Regions from separate parts of the Homo sapiens genome. Here all the other regions are linked to region 1. The links are contacts of gene promoters, found by promoter capture Hi-C in blood cells and fetal thymus (Javierre and others, 2016). All regions are on one chromosome and are shown on one strand. Each heading gives the region's core, a stretch centred on a gene start or on the middle of the fragment in contact. The rest is flanking DNA. Distances are from core to core; before and after follow the strand shown. Region 1 holds the start of IL20 (interleukin 20). Region 2 overlaps DYRK3 (dual specificity tyrosine phosphorylation regulated kinase 3). Region 3 has its middle 4.3 kb from the start of DYRK3. Region 4 has its middle 14 kb from the start of MAPKAPK2. Region 5 overlaps MAPKAPK2 (MAPK activated protein kinase 2).

What was found. The method cuts DNA at HindIII sites, captures the fragments that hold promoters and counts their contacts. A CHiCAGO score of 5 or more calls a contact.
Region 2: a contact is called between a fragment that was not itself captured here and the fragment with the promoter of IL20 in region 1, in 2 of 17 cell types (activated CD4 T cells and naive B cells). The highest score is 7.5, in activated CD4 T cells.
Region 3: a contact is called between a fragment that was not itself captured here and the fragment with the promoter of IL20 in region 1, in 1 of 17 cell types (activated CD4 T cells). The highest score is 7.9, in activated CD4 T cells.
Region 4: a fragment that was not itself captured here is called in contact with the fragment with the promoter of IL20 in region 1 in 1 of 17 cell types (activated CD4 T cells); the score reaches 5.3 in activated CD4 T cells.
Region 5: a contact is called between a fragment that was not itself captured here and the fragment with the promoter of IL20 in region 1, in 6 of 17 cell types (activated CD4 T cells, naive CD4 T cells, non-activated CD4 T cells and 3 more). The highest score is 9.0, in activated CD4 T cells.

What each region holds. Positions count from the first base shown.
Region 1 is chr1:206,864,342-206,867,041 of GRCh38, forward strand. IL20 (interleukin 20) reads left to right here and starts at 1,282. Exons shown (of 6, transcript NM_018724.4): 1 at 1,282-1,345; 2 at 1,482-1,670; 3 at 1,958-2,023; 4 at 2,143-2,295. The coding sequence starts at 1,512. The HindIII fragment of the contact is 6,531 bases long and covers 441-2,700 here.
Region 2 is chr1:206,648,047-206,650,746 of GRCh38, forward strand. DYRK3 (dual specificity tyrosine phosphorylation regulated kinase 3) reads left to right here. Exons shown (of 3, transcript NM_003582.4): 3 at 1-2,700. The coding sequence ends at 919. Among named protein-coding and RNA genes, the nearest start is that of DYRK3-AS1, 14 kb to the left of the region's middle. The HindIII fragment of the contact is 1,066 bases long and covers 843-1,908 here.
Region 3 is chr1:206,629,916-206,632,615 of GRCh38, forward strand. No RefSeq gene overlaps it. Among named protein-coding and RNA genes, the nearest start is that of DYRK3, 4.3 kb to the right of the region's middle. RefSeq lists an enhancer at 1,407-1,476. The HindIII fragment of the contact is 420 bases long and covers 1,130-1,549 here.
Region 4 is chr1:206,669,636-206,672,335 of GRCh38, forward strand. No RefSeq gene overlaps it. Among named protein-coding and RNA genes, the nearest start is that of MAPKAPK2, 14 kb to the right of the region's middle. The HindIII fragment of the contact is 4,234 bases long and covers 1-2,700 here.
Region 5 is chr1:206,703,669-206,706,368 of GRCh38, forward strand. The region is part of intron 1 of MAPKAPK2 (MAPK activated protein kinase 2); the gene reads left to right. Among named protein-coding and RNA genes, the nearest start is that of MAPKAPK2, 20 kb to the left of the region's middle. RefSeq lists an enhancer at 147-456. The HindIII fragment of the contact is 634 bases long and covers 1,027-1,660 here.

The DNA of each region.
Region 1 (2,700 bases), core at 32-2,531:
GTGATAATGATTATCAGTGCTGTGCCAAGCTATGGAGCCAGCCATATATATATGGATGTGTGCATATATATATATGATGTGTGTGTATATATATATGTCTTTATAAATTTTATGTATTTATTTCTTTCAAAAATATTAAAGTATTTGAGAAAATTGAAAAATTAAAAAGTAGGTTTATTACGACTCATGACTTTAAGTTTAAATATTTTATTTCTGCCCCAAACAAAATTTATTATAATTTTACTGTCCTGGTTTTAAGGGAAGGAAACTCATCAATAATATTTTCATCATATGCTTTTGAGAAACAAAGTTAACCATTAAGAATGAAACATGAAAACATGTGAATAGTGGTACAAATTTTTCCTTTTGCTTCAATATGGCTCAGCATGGCACTGTCGAATTTTGTCTTTATATAAAATTTTGATATTTTGTTTGTCATAAGCTTTTTAATTCATTTTGATATTGCACTAAAATATTTTTATCTTGATGACTGAGGTTTTTTAGTGCTCCCTTAAATTTTGCACCTAAAATGAGTGCCTCAATTGTTTTACCCTAACCTCAGCCCATTATTATTTTATCTTAAAACTCAGCAAACACCCTAACCTGCTCTCTTACTGAGGAGGCTCGCCCAAGAATAAATGAGTTCCGTCATTGCCTTTCTTCTCTGACTTTTGGGACCATTTGCTTGGTCTAGGACCTGAGTTGCAGGTCCAGGAAAGCGTGTACTCTCGAATCCACCCAGGAGTGCCTGACTACAGTCCTCCTGCAGAGGGCGCTGTGGAGTCCCAGACACGAGTGTTAGGTGGAATCGGGCTGATTGCCCATCACGTCTTGCCTTTCCCTGGCAGTAGGCTTGTTATGAAATCATTGACTTTCTATTTGCCTCTGGGGCTTAAGCGAATCTGTTACCCTCAAATAACCTATCTGATCTCAGACAAATGCCAAACAGAGCTCAGTTTCTCTGCCCTGTGGGTGGCCATAAAATCCAGACAATTTCCCCCTAGGTGTTTTCGATGGCGCAGCCACAGCTTCTGTGAGATTCGATTTCTCCCCAGTTCCCCTGTGGGTCTGAGGGGACCAGAAGGGTGAGCTACGTTGGCTTTCTGGAAGGGGAGGCTATATGCGTCAATTCCCCAAAACAAGTTTTGACATTTCCCCTGAAATGTCATTCTCTATCTATTCACTGCAAGTGCCTGCTGTTCCAGGCCTTACCTGCTGGGCACTAACGGCGGAGCCAGGATGGGGACAGAATAAAGGAGCCACGACCTGTGCCACCAACTCGCACTCAGACTCTGAACTCAGACCTGAAATCTTCTCTTCACGGGAGGCTTGGCAGTTTTTCTTAGTAAGTTGCGTGGATGGGCCACACTGTCTGAGGCCAGATAAGGCTGTTCTCTTCCCCTGACCCCCCACCCCTCACCCCGTGGACACTTGGAGGAGGGGAAACTCAGTAAGTCATGCTCTCTTCTTTGAATTCCTAGCTCCTGTGGTCTCCAGATTTCAGGCCTAAGATGAAAGCCTCTAGTCTTGCCTTCAGCCTTCTCTCTGCTGCGTTTTATCTCCTATGGACTCCTTCCACTGGACTGAAGACACTCAATTTGGGAAGCTGTGTGATCGCCACAAACCTTCAGGAAATACGAAATGGATTTTCTGAGATACGGGGCAGTGTGGTACGTAAGCGGGTATCTACCTCTCCTGAAAGCCTTTTCTCTTCCTTCCTTGTCCGTTTCTCTTTCCTGGCAGTACTGGCAGTGTAATCATAAAAAGAGGCAGGCTGGGGATTCCTTACCCGGGGGATGTATTCCAAAGAAATAACTGTAGTTCAAATATTTAAAATGTTTTGGGAAAGGACACCTCCCACTAGTTCTTGGCAGGGAGTGGATGAGAAGTCTTGATATTGAAGACCCTGGCAGCAGGCACTGACTCATCCTTGCTTGTTTTGTCTTCTTCTGTTTAGCAAGCCAAAGATGGAAACATTGACATCAGAATCTTAAGGAGGACTGAGTCTTTGCAAGACACAAAGGTATGTGCTTGGCCCAGACAAACTCTGGGAGGAGGAGTGGAGTGGGAGCATCTCCATCACCCTGGTCTTGTCTCTGCTCTCCCCTTTCCCCTCACCAATATACCTGTGGTTTTTTGCAGCCTGCGAATCGATGCTGCCTCCTGCGCCATTTGCTAAGACTCTATCTGGACAGGGTATTTAAAAACTACCAGACCCCTGACCATTATACTCTCCGGAAGATCAGCAGCCTCGCCAATTCCTTTCTTACCATCAAGAAGGACCTCCGGCTCTGTGTGAGTGTGGGTCTTGGGTGACAGGATGCATCTCAGCACACAGCTTCAATGGCTTAGCAACTAAACTCTCTTTCCTACCTCCATTTAATGGATGGAGAAACTGAGTCCAAAAGTTCTAATAATCTGTGTTGAGACATGTGACTAGGTAATAAGAACTCAGTTTTATTGACTTTTCGGTATATGCTCTAGGCAAAAAGTACTTTGCAAAGTCTAAAGAACTATAAGATGCTAACTATTTGATATTAATGATAACTCTGTTGTCTTTGAAATTATACTTTTTCTGTAGGTGAGGTATCCTACAGTATATTAGTGCGTCCTCTGTCTAGGCAGTCAATTAGTAGACCATTGAGCTTGACCTCAGAATATAGTCTGAATAGGACCTAGGAATTCAATTCTTTTTTTTTT
Region 2 (2,700 bases), core at 126-2,625, 220 kb before region 1:
TGTTTGCATGGCCTTTGAATTGCTGAGCATAGACCTTTATGAGCTGATTAAAAAAAATAAGTTTCAGGGTTTTAGCGTCCAGTTGGTACGCAAGTTTGCCCAGTCCATCTTGCAATCTTTGGATGCCCTCCACAAAAATAAGATTATTCACTGCGATCTGAAGCCAGAAAACATTCTCCTGAAACACCACGGGCGCAGTTCAACCAAGGTCATTGACTTTGGGTCCAGCTGTTTCGAGTACCAGAAGCTCTACACATATATCCAGTCTCGGTTCTACAGAGCTCCAGAAATCATCTTAGGAAGCCGCTACAGCACACCAATTGACATATGGAGTTTTGGCTGCATCCTTGCAGAACTTTTAACAGGACAGCCTCTCTTCCCTGGAGAGGATGAAGGAGACCAGTTGGCCTGCATGATGGAGCTTCTAGGGATGCCACCACCAAAACTTCTGGAGCAATCCAAACGTGCCAAGTACTTTATTAATTCCAAGGGCATACCCCGCTACTGCTCTGTGACTACCCAGGCAGATGGGAGGGTTGTGCTTGTGGGGGGTCGCTCACGTAGGGGTAAAAAGCGGGGTCCCCCAGGCAGCAAAGACTGGGGGACAGCACTGAAAGGGTGTGATGACTACTTGTTTATAGAGTTCTTGAAAAGGTGTCTTCACTGGGACCCCTCTGCCCGCTTGACCCCAGCTCAAGCATTAAGACACCCTTGGATTAGCAAGTCTGTCCCCAGACCTCTCACCACCATAGACAAGGTGTCAGGGAAACGGGTAGTTAATCCTGCAAGTGCTTTCCAGGGATTGGGTTCTAAGCTGCCTCCAGTTGTTGGAATAGCCAATAAGCTTAAAGCTAACTTAATGTCAGAAACCAATGGTAGTATACCCCTATGCAGTGTATTGCCAAAACTGATTAGCTAGTGGACAGAGATATGCCCAGAGATGCATATGTGTATATTTTTATGATCTTACAAACCTGCAAATGGAAAAAATGCAAGCCCATTGGTGGATGTTTTTGTTAGAGTAGACTTTTTTTAAACAAGACAAAACATTTTTATATGATTATAAAAGAATTCTTCAAGGGCTAATTACCTAACCAGCTTGTATTGGCCATCTGGAATATGCATTAAATGACTTTTTATAGGTCAATGCATCTTTGTTATTATCGTCAGATGTATTTCAACTGATGTATTATACTATTGGTTTAAATCTCTTTCTCTCAAGATAGAAGGTGTAGCAAAAGTATCCCAACTACTCCTCGCTTCTAGTGTCCCTCGGCATCTGTTCTGGAGGGGTAATTTGGGATGTGGTGTTAGTTGTGGCTGAGAGCCAGTGCTAGGTCCCTTGCCCCACTAGGCCATTCTCTAGGCTCATTCTAGGTGAAAGAGCTCACAGCAGACTGTGGGGTGGGGGAGCACCAGGAAGCTGTTGGTGACCTGGACAACTGGTGTCCCTGGTTTTCAGTGACTCGCTCCTCTTCCCTTCAGTTCTCTGATGTTTGGTGTTATTATTTTATGTTGTTATTTTGCCTCTGATTTGTTTCCTAGTCACTCAAAGCATTTTACAGAAGCCTTACCACTTTACTAAATAACCCTGTAAGGTACTGATTTAAAAACTGAGTCATATGCATCCCTCCTCCTTTCCTCTCCCATGCCCAAGGAAGATAAAACAGCTTCTCTGCCACAATTGACCCAGAGTGGTAAAGATAGAGAATCAGCATGAAAACTGCAGTTCCCCAGCTTTGTGGTACTCCACGGACCAGCCTCCTTGCTGCATTTTCATAGAATCTCTTCCTTATAAAAGTAATCACTCTCGGATAAACCTTACTACAGTTTAAAAATGCTTCCCTCTTCTCTTTACAGCTACCTGCCACTTCAATGTGCCACATTTTTCCCCCCACTTTCACGTTAAGCTTAATGCTATTCCCTAGATCTGAGTGAACTTCAGTTAGAAGAAGAAAACTAAAAATCCAGAAACTGGTGATAATCAAGTTTTCCCTTTTTATGTTTCTTAATTTTATTCTCTTCAACAGCTTTTCTTTTTCTCTGCTAAGATTTAAACAGTGAGGGCTGATAATAAAACTAATTGTTAAGCCAGTGTCCTACTTACAAGGGTGGAGACGGGACAGAAGCTAACTCACTGCTACTGGGTTTTGTTTGTTGTTTCCTGTCCCTTGCTCTATTTCTGTCCTCTTCCAGAACAAAAGTATGCTCAAGTTCTATCCTAAATGTGTGCTCTTGGCTGGGTATTAGTGGCTCATGCCTGTAATCCCAGCACTTTGGGAGGCTGAGGTGGGTGGATTCCTTGAGCCCAGGAGTTCAAGACCAGCCTGGGCAACATGGTGAAACCCTGCCTCTACAAAAAATACAAAAATTAGCCAGGCCTAGTGGCACATGCCTGTAATCCCAGCTACTTGGGAGGCTGAGGTGGGAGGATCACTTGAGCTGAGATCATGCCACTGCACTCCAGCCTAGGCAACAGAGTGAGACTCTGTCTAAAAAACAAACCAAAAAAAGTGTGTTCTTTAAAGTAGAATATTTGCTTTTTACAATATAGTTCTCAGAATGATCCAGTTCCATTTATTATTCTAGAATGTGGTGCAAACTCAATGACATTGGAAGAGACTCTTTTTGTTGGGCAGTGTAGGAACAAGAAAAGAAAATAAAAATGCCATGAGTATATTATTTAAGGAACTTTTGTTT
Region 3 (2,700 bases), core at 90-2,589, 230 kb before region 1:
ATTTCCAACACCTAGCTGTAGTGAATATCTGTTGTGTTTGCTGTACCATATTCACTTATCTCTTTTTTGGGACCCGCTATAGCAACTTTCCTCTGAAAGTCACTGTTTTCCTAACTTTCTGTCCAATATGTTTCTACTGCTGTGTCTAGGAGCCTCAGGCCTGACCAGTCAGAGTATTACATTTTCCTGGCTGCATATTTGGTTTAAGAATGGGCCCAGTGAAAGCCAGTGAATTACAGTGAGACTGTGGGATGACTGAGACAGCTTTTCTACTGAGTTGAACTTGGAACTGCAGTTGCCATCTTGCTTGCACAAAAGAACCCTGAGAATGAAACTAGCATGTTGGAATATAGAAACAAGAAATGGAGATAGGACAGGCACCCATCATATTCAAATTTAGCTTTACTGCTTTTAAAAAAATACTGTAAAAAAGGTATATGGTACATTTTCTTTTCTTTTTTCCTTGTTTTCTTTTTCTTTTTTTTTTTTTTTTTTTTTTTGAGACAGTTTTGCTCTTGTTACCCAGGCTGGAGTACAATGGCACAATCTCTGGTCACTGTAACCTCCACCTCCTGGGTTCAAGCCATTATCCAGCCTCAGCCTCCCAAGTAGCTGGGATTACAGGTGCCCGCCACCACACCTGGTTAATTTTTGTATTTTTAGTAGAGATGAGGTTTCACCATGTCGGCCAGGCTGGTCTCGAACTCCTGACCTCAGGTGATCCACCTGCCTCAGCCTCCCAAAGTCCTGGGATTACAGGCGTGAGCCACCGCACTCGGCTAGTACATTTTCTTTAAACAGATTTAGTTTGATATTTGCAATAGAAAAAGCCCTAACCTGTACACTAGGTGATTGAGAGAGAACTAGTTCCTTGGCCCAAATGCTGTGAATAGAGCAGGTGCATTGGTCTTCTAAGACCTTCCATGAGCCAGATGACTCAATAGGACTTGGTCTCCAAGGTCTACAGTAGTGATTTCCAAACCTGGCTGATGAACAACAGCCACAATAAAAATATGAGCAGAGATCCTTACCAAGAAACTGTTCATCATTAGATCTGGTGGGATGGAGGGTAGGCATAATTGGTATTTTTCAAAAGTACCCCTATCATTTATTTATTGCCATACCCCAAAGCTTAGTGGCTTAAAGTAATCATTTTATTTGCTCATAATTCTCAAGGGGCTGTTGATTTGGGTGGGGTGCAGCCAAGAGGTTCTTCTGCTAGCTTTACGTGGAACTCTCATATGGCTGCTGTCAGCTGGCAACTCAGCCAGGTGGCTTCCCTCACTTGTCTGGCAATTGGTATTAGCTGAGGACTACAGAAATCCAGCTCAGACTTGTCCACATGGTGGCAGCATCTAAGAGCAAGAGAGAAGAAGCTGTAAGGGGGGTCTCCTGAGGCCTAAGCGCCTAAATTCCTCACGTGTTATTGGTCAAATCAAGTCACGTGGCCAGTCAGCTTCAAGAACCAGGAAAATTGTTTCCTCTACTCCCTGGGAACAGCTGCAAAGGATGTGCTATGTTTAATCTATTACAGTACCCAAGGTTCCTAAGCTTTAATGCAACAAATTACAAATTTAGTGGCTTGAAACAAGGAAAATTTATTATCTTACAGTTCTGGAAGTCAGAACTCCTAAAATTGAGGTGTAAGCAGAGATTCGTTCCTTCTGGAAGCTCTAGAAGAAAATTTGTTTCCCTGCCTTTTCCAGCTTCTAGAGGCCACCTTCATTCCTTAACTCACGGCCCCCTCCTCCATCTTCAAGACCAACAACAGCATCTTCAAATCTCTTTCCCTCTCTGACCTCTGTTCCATGGTCACATTTCCCTCTCTGACCCTCCTGCTTTCCCCTTCCATCCTTTTTTTTTAGATGGAGTCTCACTCTGTCACCCAGGCTGGAGTGCAGTGGCGTGATCTCTGCTCACTGCAACCTCAGCCTCCTGGGTTCAAGTGATTCTCCTGCCTCAGCCTCCCGAGTAGTTGGGACTACAGGCACACACCACCATGCCCAGCTAATTTTTGTGTTTTTAGTAGAGACGGGGTTTCACCATGTTGGCCAGGGTGGTCTCGAACTCCTGACCTCAGGTGATCCGCCCACTTCGGCCTCCCAAAGTGCTGGGATTACAGGCATGAGTTACTGCACCTGGCCTCCCCTTCCATCTTAAAAGGACTCCTGTGATTACAGTGGGCCCACTCAGATAATCTAGGAAAATCACCCCATCTCAAGATCCTTAACTTCATCACATTTGCTAAGTCCCTTTTTGTCAAGTAAAGTGACATATTTACAGATTCTTGGAATTAGGATGCGGACATCTTTGGGGAACTATCATTCTGCTTACCATCTTCAGAATCTTAAATCAAGAGAAACTATGTCACAGAATTCAAGGGTCCAGTGGTCTAGCCTGGGCTAGCCTGCCAGGCTCAGGGAATACAGGTGGAATACAGGCAGTCGAGGGGCTGAGTTTTTCAACCAAACAGACCAGGGTTTGAATTTCAGTTCATCACTTACTGGCTGGGTGACCTTGGGCAAGTTATTAAACTCTGAGACTGTTTTCTGAAGTGTAGGATGGAGATAATACCTATCTCACGGGACTACTGTGAGTTTTAAATGAGCAAATATGTTAAAGTGCTTCAGATAGTGCTTGGAACATAATAAATACTTAGCAAATGGTAATGATGATTAGAAAGACTCCTGGTTTGGTTTC
Region 4 (2,700 bases), core at 145-2,644, 190 kb before region 1:
CAACAATGAAATAATATGCTGAGCTGGATGGTGGAGAGGTCCTGTCTGCTGAGCATGGCAAAGCAGAGGACGGTCAGACCCGGATCCTTGATGGAGCTTGAGGACTTTGTTGAGCTGCTGAACAACCCGAGATCACCTCCCTTTAGCCTTGTTAAGAAACTATTAGCATCTTTATGATTTAAGCCATTGCCAGTTGTCTTTTCAGCTGCATGCGTCCTAACTGATATAGGATGGTTCTCATATTCTGGATCCAAGGTAATTTAGGCTGGTTTTTAAATGAGATTAGGGTACCAGTAAGACCTTTTGAAATGTTGAGGTAAACCATCTTTGACTGTGGTTTCTTCCCTAAAGTAGCACTCAAGGCCATCATTCTTTAAAACAATCCTGATTGTTTAAACAGACCAATTACTTTGCTATGGGTAATGAAGATTATGGAAGTCAGGCCTTTCTGCCTTTTTTGGTTGAAGCCAAGTCAAACTAAGCCTTCCAAGCAAGAGACACCCATTTGTCCTCTCCACAGCTTCTCATAATTATTTCCATGCCTTATTGATACATTGGGAAGTAAACCCTCCTAATTATTGCAATTGGCTACATTTTTATTGTAATATGAGATAAGACTTTGGATATCATGCTTTTCTCTAGAATTTAAGACAAAGGAACTCTCTAGACTGAGAGTTCAAAAGGCTGAGCTTTTGTCTAGAATGTGAGCCTAATGGAAAAGGCGAGATATTTGCAAGGGAGTCATTGCACGCATACTCAGCAAGCACAGACTGCTCCTCTCGGGGCTACTGAGGAGGGCACAGGTGACTGGGAATGGAGTATCTGCCCTTGAGAAATTGACAACTTGGGAGAAAAAAAAGTCCTCAAAAGTGACGAATAAAAGGCCAAGTATAACAAGCATCATAAAGGATGGATTGGAAAAGCACGGGGTTGAAGGCAAGGAATCTAGTTAGTGAGCTAGTGGAATATTCTAGGTGAGAGAAATCTAGGGCAGTTGCAGGGGAGATGGAAAAGAGGGCAGGATACAGGAGGCCTTGCTGAGATAGAGTCAGCAAGAATTGCCAGCTGATTAGATGTGGGATGTGAGGAGAGGGGTGAATAAAAGGACAAACCTCCTGAAACAACAGTGGGAGAGATTTTAACAAATCGTCTGTATTGTCTTCTAGGTATGGGGGGAGGATAGGAAGACAAGAAAAACATCTAGATCATGGTTCTCAAACTTTCATTTAGCTGAGGAATATCTTCTTCAACAAAGCCATCTACATACAGCCAATATATTTGGGGTAGAATGTGTTTTTTTCCCTCCCCTTTCCTTGTTTAGGAGTTGGGCATGCACCAGGGTAGGATAACAGAAGACAGCACAATTGTTCTGTGCAATGATTCGGGGAGGTTCTATGCAGGGCCAGCTTCATGGGCATGCAAGCCATGCATTGCACAGGGACCTGCATTTATAAGGACGCTGTGTGGGTTTAATACTCACTTGGAATTCTTTTCTTTTTTTCAAGACGGAGTCTTGCTCTGTCACCCACGCTGAAGTGCAGCGGCGCGATCTCCGCTCACAACAAGCTCCGCCTCCCGGGTTCACGGCCGTTCTCCTGCCTCAGCCTCCCAAGTAGCTGGGACTATAGGCGCCCGCCACCATGCCCGGCTAATTTTTTTTTTTTTTGTATTTTTAGTAGAGACGGGGTTTCACCGTGTTAGCCAGGATGGTCTTTATCTCCTGACCTCGTGATCCGCCCTCCTCGGCCTCCCAAAGTGCTGGGATTACAAGCATGAGCCACCGCGCCCAGCCTGGAATTCTTAATAATTTCTGAACAAGGTGCTATGCATGTTTATTTTGCACTGGGTCCGGCAAAGGAGCTAACTGGCCCTGAACAGAGGTAGGGAACTAAAGAAACTCGTCTTTTACAGGCTCGGAGATGCCAAGACAGCCAGGGTGGAAATGCATATGAATGATAATGTCCTAATAGTAGTAGTCTATTTCACAGGGTTGCTGCAAGTGTTGAATGAGAAAATATGTGGAAAGTGCTTAGAACAGTGTCTGGCACATAGGGAATGCTGTGGAAGTGTTTGATATCATTACTGTTCCCTCCTTGTACTGGTTCAACACCTGACAGCCTGAGGTTGATTATTCAAAGGGTCACAGTGGGCTTTTCTCATTTTCCCATTTCTAACCTGTCGCTCACCATCCAGCCCCAGGCTTATGATTGTCCTTTGGGGGAAAAAACTCCAACAACAATAATTATCACAATAAATACATAGGTGAGATCACATCCTCTCTTGATCCTTAGTGTAGCTAGCTGGTGCTTCAGGGTGTGTCTGTGTGCTCTGTGTGTCTTTGTTTGTGTCTGAGAGGGAGGTTTTTTTTTTTTCATTTAATTTTAATTCAATTAATTAGAGGCTCTCTCTGGTGGTTTCATTTTGTTTTTCTTTACCTGCCTTTTTGGTTCATATAGCGAGGACCCTGGAACCACCTGCTTCCTCCCTGCCACCGCTTCTCCTCAGGTCCCCAGGGGAAGCCAGGATCTAAAGGATGACTGTGTCACCATTGTCCTCAAGATAATGGCTCCCTCCCCCGCTTCCCTCCACTCCTATCTCATTCTCTTGAGCCTGTGGAGTGTTCAACCTTTGTCCTTCGAGTATAACCCTTTACTGGCGATAAAAAATTAAAATACTGGCTCAACACCTCTACTCCACGAA
Region 5 (2,700 bases), core at 94-2,593, 160 kb before region 1:
AATGCCTGGTAATATCTCATTGTATTTTCTTTTGATGCTCCTGGGGGCAGGAGGGGAGAGCTGACATCAGAGCCTCCTCCCTTCTAGATCACAACCAGAGCATGAGGAATTCCCCAGCCCCTTGAGGTACCCAGACACTAACCACAATCTCCATCTCTGCTGAAGGCGTTGTAAGAAACATGCAGGCCAGGAACAGTCAGTGGCTTCAGAGCAGGGGCAGCCTGCTAAAGAGGCAGAGGCTTCTTGTGAGGGCGGGGAGCTTGAGAGTGCCCTGCACCCCATCCTGGGGGAGGTGAGCATCTGCTTCTGGGTTCAGCTGCCTGCGGAAGTCAGTGGGAGACACCCTTTCAGGGTCTGCTTCATTATGAATGAAGCAAAAAGCCTATCCCAGGAAATCACAGAGGCTGATGGGTATACCCCAGGGTACACAGGCTATATTTTTCCAATCCAAAGTGAGGGTCTATCTGATAGTTTTTCCTGGAGTTGGGGAGGGGTCCTACTTTCAGATCCAAAAGAAAATCTGAGATATGTCATTTGAATATGAACGCACTAGACTTTCTGGGAAATGTTGAAGATTTACGCCTGTCTGAGTGTCTCTCACTCGTTGTTACCTGTCCATTTGTTACCTGGCCCACGGATGGAGGAGGTCGGATGGGGTCTCCCAGGGTCCCCTTGCTGGGCACGCTTGGCAGGCATCCTGCTTTTCCTTTCAGGTTGCTGGAATTAGTGGTGGTGGTGGCTCAGCTCACCCAGACCATGTGTGATGGTTATGGTGGTGACTTCTCACTGACTGCTGATGTGTACAGTACATTGAAAGCAGTCACCCAACTTCCTTTATAGCCGGATACAAAACAGTGCCTGAGGTCCAGGGTCGGGGAGGACTTGATGAGGGAATAAAACCAGCCGGCTCATCTAGGGGCTGATATCTGTCCGTGGTGACATAAGCACACATGATCTGCAGTCAAGGTTGACTTGAGGGTGTGCATGGGTTCAGTCCCTTTTATGAAGTCTAATGGTCCTTCCAGAAGCTTCATCATCATTTGAACTGAATAAGTGAAGATGAGTGCACCACAAGTGTGTGTGTGCACTTCTTAATCTGTCCATTCATCTGTTCACTGCAGGCTTATTGAGGGAGAAACATGTAAGCAAGGTATTTCTTGTGTACTCCAAGTGGTAGGAGAGCTATGTTCAGGGAACTGGGTGAACTTGGAAGAAGGAGCCGCCCGTTTCTCCAAGTGCAGCGCCAGTCCCGAGACACTCTGTGATCATCTAAACTGGGGAACAGTCTGCAATGCACATTACTGAATTAAAAGCTCTGAGAAGTTCTACAGTGAAAGAATCTGTTTAACTTTGTTTAACCTGGTGCTTCTGCCATCTATATGACCCCTTTTTACTTAGCACTTATTAACATCCTACGGAATACTATTTGAGAAATGGCAACAGCCCCCCTTCTCTGGGAGAACTGTTCAGTGATTCAGAGCAAAAGTCACCTGACTCTGGGTCAGCACAAGTTGGAGAGGTTTGAAAAAGGTGTATGTATGTTTGCATGTGTATGTACGGTGGGTTGGGGGGAGGGGTGTGGCAGAGGAGGGGCCCCGGCAGGTGGCTTCTATTGAAATCAGCTCTGTCTGCCTCCCTGTTGGCTTTGTGCTTCTGGAGAAGCTTTTGTCCTGGCATGAAAACACTGAATAGCAGCTGCATCTGTCATGCCTGGGAAGCAGCAATGTGCAGCATGGGGTTGCATGAGTAGACACTCCTGCTGGAGGGCCAGGCTGCCGAGAGTGCCTGGGTATTGGACAAGGGAGAGGCTGGTGATTCTGAGGCAGCTGCTTGCTAATCCTGGAAGCAGAGGGGAACAAGATTTAGCTCCCTTATCTCTCTGCCTTCTCCTTTCCGATGGGTGCAATTGTGTTGACTCTTGAGGGACAGCCAGGAAGAAGCAGGTGGGCTGGATGCTTTCTCCTTTCTCCACCAACCCAAGGGCATCTGGAGGGTGGACCAGGGCAGAAAGGCGATTAGCTCTCCGTTACCCAGGGAGCTGAGACAAAGGCATTTTGGGTTAAATTCAAGGAGGAATTCAGAATTGTGAACTGGATTTATGGAAGTTTGTGGAGTTTGAAAATTCGAGAGTCCTGGCTGGACTTGTGCTTGGAACGTTGGTCGGAGGTGGATATGAATGATGGGTCCTGCAGATGGCCGACTCCTGAGAAATGACTGGGAGGCTTTACTGGATTTTTCGCTTGGAACAAACCCAGGCTTAGGGAATTCCCGGAGCCTGTTGCAGGCCTCAACACCCTTCTGGTGCAGCTTCGCTGTGAGGCAGTGGTTATTTCTCAGGAAACTGGCAACTGGGAGTAAATGGGAGTGTGGGGTGGGAATCAGCTACTCTTCCTGAGGATTATACACTTCCAGTGTAATTAAGGCGGGGTCAGGATTTCCTATCTCTTATTTATTTATTTATTTATTTATTTATTTATTTATTTATTTATTTGCTTAATCTTAAAAGGCTGCTTTTCCCCTCCTGGTCTTCCCACAGGGACAGGAGTTAGTCTGTTCCCAGAAGGAGCTAGGGGAGGTGTCCTTCATCTCCCATTCCTTCTTGCCCTCTCCCTGCCTTTCCCTGGCCACAGCCACAGAGACCCAGAGTCACTCAGATGGGGGAGGAGCAAAGCCAGTCCCTCTGATCATTGCCTCTTTGTT